2 separate regions of the Homo sapiens genome follow, and region 2 is linked to region 1. Evidence: promoter capture Hi-C in human tissues and cell types (Jung and others, 2019). All regions are on one chromosome and are shown on one strand. Each heading gives the region's core, a stretch centred on a gene start or on the middle of the fragment in contact. The rest is flanking DNA. Distances are from core to core; before and after follow the strand shown.

The links. The method cuts DNA at HindIII sites, captures the fragments that hold promoters and counts their contacts. A contact is called where the count stands out against the background at its distance.
Region 2: a contact is called between a fragment that was not itself captured here and the fragment with the promoter of NRG3 in region 1, in 2 of the 25 tissues and cell types used here (dorsolateral prefrontal cortex and hippocampus).

Annotation. Positions count from the first base shown.
Region 1 is chr10:81,873,931-81,876,630 of GRCh38, reverse strand. NRG3 (neuregulin 3) reads right to left here and starts at 1,437. Exons shown (of 9, transcript NM_001010848.4): 1 at 468-1,437. The coding sequence starts at 1,290. LOC124902549 (a long non-coding RNA gene) reads left to right here and starts at 2,113. Exons shown (of 2, transcript XR_007062377.1): 1 at 2,113-2,282. RefSeq lists an enhancer at 1-488. The HindIII fragment of the contact is 10,350 bases long and covers 1-2,700 here.
Region 2 is chr10:82,651,030-82,653,729 of GRCh38, reverse strand. The region is part of intron 2 of NRG3 (neuregulin 3); the gene reads right to left. Among named protein-coding and RNA genes, the nearest start is that of NRG3-AS1, 420 kb to the right of the region's middle. The HindIII fragment of the contact is 5,301 bases long and covers 1-2,700 here.

The DNA.
Region 1 (2,700 bases), core at 188-2,687:
TTGTGGTTTATCGTCGGTCAATTTGCATGTGCTTTGCTTTCTTTCCTTCCTACCGGCGGGCGGAGAAGGGGCTCAGTGCCTTCGGGAAGGCCCTCTCTCCCTCCCTGGCCCTCTACTGGAGCGGGATCCGGCAGCTCGCCAGCAGGTCTGCAGTGAGGAGGGATCGCACTCGCGTTAACCCTTTGAAGGGAGTTGGGAGATCTGTTCTCACTTGGGACCCGCTAAAGTGGGGCCAGTGGAGCCTGACAATCTCCCTCCCGTTCCTACACGCCCCCACCCCCCCAGAACCAGAGCAGGCTGGCACCTTCTTCCCCGCTGGTGGCCAGTTTTAATCAGCTCTCACTCTGCCCCAAACCTGGGATGGGGGAGGGGGCTTGCTAGAAAACAGGCGGCGAGGGAAAAAGACAGCAGGAGGGCAGAAGGGAAACTCAGTAGTAAATCATAGTTGAGACACAGTGTTTACTTACGAAATTTGGGGCTGGTGCTAGTTTCTGGTGTGGTGGTGGTAGCGGAGGAGGAAGAAGAGGAAGAAGAGGAGGCAGCATCCTGAAAGGGAGACAGGGTCCAGGAGGGAGTAGAATCGTGAAGGTAGGAGGAGGTAGCGTATGCCGCAGTAGGCCAGGAGGGCATTGCCTGGGTACTTGGAGTTCCTGGCACCGGGGGTCGGGAGCCCAGCGTGCTGCTACTGAAGAACGGGGCCGTGGTGGACGGGACCGTCGCAGGGGCCGCAGTGTTCCGTGCTGTGGTGGAGCGCGGGCTGGCCCGGATGGGCACCCGGTGCCCGGGGAAGCGAGTGGGCGCCCGCGTGATGGTGGTCAGGCGAGTGCTAATCCGGTTGGGCGTCCTGGAGGAGGCGGCACCCCCGGCGGAGGGGGTGGCGGGGGACGTGGTGGAAGTGGTAGTGGTGGTGGTCTCCATGGCCTTGGGGAAAGAGCTGGGCTTGGAGAGGAAGAAGGGGTCCTGGCCCATCCCCTTGGAGTCCACTAGGTCGGTGGGCACGTACTCCTTGACGGAGCCCACCACGATCCATTTGAGAAGCATGAGGCTGAGCCCCAGGCCGATGAAGCCGATGAACAGAGGTACCACGCACAGCCACGTCTGCTGCCGGTTCCACACGATGCAGTCGCTACAGCGTAACTCCCGGGGGGGCTCGGCCGCCCCTTCGCCGCCGCCGTCCGGGCCCCCGCCCGCCGCTGCCGCCGCCGCAGCCGCCGCGGTGCCCTCCTCGGCCGAGGCGGCGGCTGCCGAAGCGGCACCAGGTGGCGAGGCAGCGGCCGCCCCTTCACTCATCCTAGGAGCCGGTCTTCACCTTCGCCCCCCCGAGGGCCGCGGCAGAGGCATGGGGCCGCGCGGGCCGGGCGCGGGCGCGGGCGCGGGCTCCGGCGGCGGCGGCGGGCTCGGGCGCAGGCAGCGGCCGCGGCGGCCGCATGCAAATCCGCTCCCTGCCCCCACGCCCCTCCCCCCGAGAGGCGGGCGGCGGGCGGGGAGGAGAGGAGCGGGGGAGGGGACGGGGCCGGGGAGGGGGCGGTAAGGAGCTCGGAAGAGGGGCGAGACGGGCCCCCGGCGCCTCCGGTCGGTCAGAGAGCGGCGGGGCGCGTCTGCAGCCCTCCAAGCCGCCTCCTGCGCGCCGGGTCCCCGCGCCCGCTGCTGCTGCTGCTGCCCGCCGCCTGCGTGCGCTCCAGGAGCGCCGACATCCTCGGGGCACCGCGCCCAGCCCGCTCCCTGGGGCGCCCGCTCGCGCCGCGCCTGGGCCTCGCGCCGCCTTCAGTGGCCCCGGCGGCCGGTCGCGGGGTGCCGGGTGCCCGCCACCCGCATTCCGACACAGAGGGCCTGCCTGGCCGCCGCGATCTTCGGCGGCTGCTCCGCGAGCCCGGGCGGTGAGGTGCACCTGTTCTTCAGCCGGCCCGCAGCCAACCCTCGGCCAGCACTCTTCTGGAGAGACCAATCCCAGCGCAGCGCGGAGGGCTAGCGGCCCGGCTCGCCTTGCTCCAGCCGTTCGCTGCTGCGCGCCGCTGCCGCCGCCGCCGGAGAGTCAAACTCCAGCGAACAGCGCCGCTGTCGCCGCCGCGAGCCAGGGGCTGGGGGCGCACCGGGCGCCCGCGGCGGGTGCGGTCTGACCCGCCTCCGAGGGACCCAACAAGCAGGCAGAGGATCGGAAATCACGCCCCGGCGCCCTGCCCGGTTGAGCGTGGGGGACGGAAGCGGGAGACTGCGTCGGGGGTCCCGGGGAACGCAGACCCCGGGCTGAGGGCGTCTCCAGACGGGCTCTGGCTGCCAGGCTGGTGCGTGTGTGTGTGCAGAATCGCCGCGGCGGGCTGGGATTCGGGCAGAGTAGCGCCTCCCACTAGCAGCTAATGCTGGTTTCTTAATGCACACAAGATAGATAAATGATCCAAGCAAACCCCCGTTTGCGGTGGGGTGGGGGGGCAAAAGCAGCTTCCGACCGATTGTGAGTCGTCTCCTGTACGGATCCAGTGGGGTCAGAGACTGACGCTGCTGGGCGAGGGGGCGGGGGCGGATGCGGGTGGGAGGGTGCCTGTGCCCTCCCCTGCCGGATGGCGGTGCGGCTGGATGGAAGGCCACCTTTGCCTGAGTTCCTGAGAGATGCAGGTGGAGCAGAAGACCTTTGTATAATCAGACCTGTCAGATATCTCCAAGCCATTTATGTGAACTTGCCTTAAAATATTGTCTTTACCTGTA
Region 2 (2,700 bases), core at 134-2,633, 780 kb before region 1:
CTTTCCCCCTCTGTTCCTATTACTTTCACTCTTGGCAGGATTATGGTGATCCACCCCCACCACCTTTGTTTTTTTTTTTAAAAAAAAACCTGAACTAGTTGTATGAGAATGGATCCCTTTTCTCATCTTCCAAATATGTGTGTCTTATCAATATAATTCCCTTTCATCTCTGAGGCCTTACAAGAAGAAATGTCCTCTCTACAGAATCAAGTTCTTTCATTTTCTCTTGGGACTTGTTAGTCAAATGCAGAATCTGCAGCCCCTCAATCTGCATTTCCACAGGCTCTCCAGGGAGTTTGCATTCAGTCACATTTGCAGAACATCAGCCTCAACTTCTCTTCTTTGAGCCCTCCACTAAAGTTTACAAAGATGACAGCATCATCTCTAACATACCTTGCTTCTATCCTGGTAGCTTCTCTATTTATCACCTACTCACTTCACTGTTCAGTTTGTAAATATGCAACTTCTGTTTTTCTTTACTTACTGATTCCATAAGGCCTTGCTGCCTCATTCAGCACTCTTAATTATTCCTGGAAATCTTGACAGTTACCAGTGTCTTTCTGCCAAGAGGTATGAAACATGTAAGTTTCAGCTTTAACAAGCCACTTGTTATAATCATCACTAATTGAGCTTTGGTAAGTCTCATGAACTATGATAATAAAATATACTTTACTGCCCAACATGCTATTTAGCAGAAATATTTATTCATGTTCTGTCTGTCCCTCTTATGCCCTCCAAATACCAGCCTGATTTGGTTACTTAAAATATCTACTCCAACCCTAGAGAAACATTTTGGGGGCTGTATTAGTTATTTATTGCTGCATAAATAACCCAAAACTCAGCAGCTTAAAACAACACATTTATTATCTCACACACATTTGAAAGGTCAGAAATCCTGGAGCAGATGAACTGAGTGGCTGTGGCTCAAAATCTCTCATGACATTGATGGGGACAGGAGGAAGAGAAATTCTAGGCAGACAGGGGTGGGTCCCTGTCAAAGCCCCACCCTCAAGCCGAAAAACCTGAGACTAGCTCAAAGTGAGAACTGACATCCCTGTTTTCCTGCTTGAATGTTGCCTTTTCCAAAACCACCCATGGCCTGCCCTACCTGACATCCTCTGCCTATAAAAACCCCAGGCTCAGCCAGCAGAGAGAAGAGAAGCAGCTAGATGTTGGAGGCTACAATTGGGGAGAGGAGAGAAGCAGCTTGACTTCAGAGGGAAACCTTGAGGGCCTAACTTCTGAGATAAATCCATCTGGAGATGGCCAGTCTTCAGGGGAAGATTATCTTCCCATCTCGTCTGTCCCCTTTTCAGCTCCCCTTCCTGCTGAGAGCCACTTTCATTGGCAATAAAATCCCCCTCATTTACCATCCTTCAATTCATTCGTGTGACCTCCATTCTCCTAGATGCTAGATAAGGGCTCAGGAGCCAAGAGTGTGGATACAAAAAGGCTGTCACACTGACCCTTTGCCCTCACCGGTGGAAGGCAGCTGCCTCTGCGGCTTCATGGGTTGCAGGCACCCCCTCCAGGTGCTGCTGCAGGGCCCACAATGGAGTTCACTCCTGCTGGCACCCTAAAAGCGCTCATCCTGGCTCCTGCACCAACTCACCTGCATGCTTCCTCCCACCAGGGGCAGATCACAGCAGGTCCAAGTGAATGAAGTTCACCCCTGCTGGTGCCAAAGCAGCTGGCTAGTTCTAGCACCTCTGCACTCCAGTTCCTGCCTCACTCACTTGTGTGCTTCCTCCCACAAGGAGTCAAGAACTGTGGGTTGAGTAAATGAGGCACTCCCTCTGTGAGTCCCGTGAAGAGGTCAGGGAAATATCCTGCCTCAATGTTGCAGTCCAAATGTCAACTGGGATGCAGTCATCTGAAGGCTTGACTGGGACTGAGCAGGTTTCTTTACCTTGGAACTACTGATATTTGGGGATGAATATATACCTCATATATCTATGAGGCCAGCATCCATGGCCTCCAACCATTACACGCTAGTATTACCCCCACCTCCCAGTTGTGACAACCAAAATGTCTCTAGACATTGACAAGTCCATGGGGGTATAAAATCACCTTTGGTTGAAAATTATGGGCCAAAGGCTCTGCTTCCACAATGGCACACTCACGACTGCTGGCTAAAGGCCTAAACTCGTCACTGGCTATTGCCAAGGAGTCCTCAGTTCCTTGTCATGTAGGCTTCTCCACAGGACAGCTTGAGTGTCCTTATGACATGGCAGATGGCTTTCCCCAGACAGAATGACCTGAGAGAGCAAAGAACAGCTGTGGTGTCCTTTATGACCCAGTCTTGGAAGTCTCATTCCTTCACTTCATCAATATTTGTTAGAAGTCCCCATTATTTCTCTTTTATTGGACATATCTTTTCTTTTCCCCTTATTAGGAAATATGGAGATCTCTTTTTAATCTGGAGATCTCTAAAGTTCTTTTCACACAGACATCACATTCTAAGCTCAGCTTCTTATTCTAGACCTCCCCACCCTAAAGTGGTCTTCCTGTTCTCGACTCCCACTACCTCACCTTACACTTAGTCCATGTCATCTTCTTCTAACCAATGTAAACTAAACAAGAAAATGAAATGAGTGCACTACAAATAGTTGGCCTAATTTTCTTACCATTTTTCCTCTTTATCTCAATGGCCTCCTGTTGCTTTCTGCCTTTCTCAACCAGCAGCCCAATTATATGCTT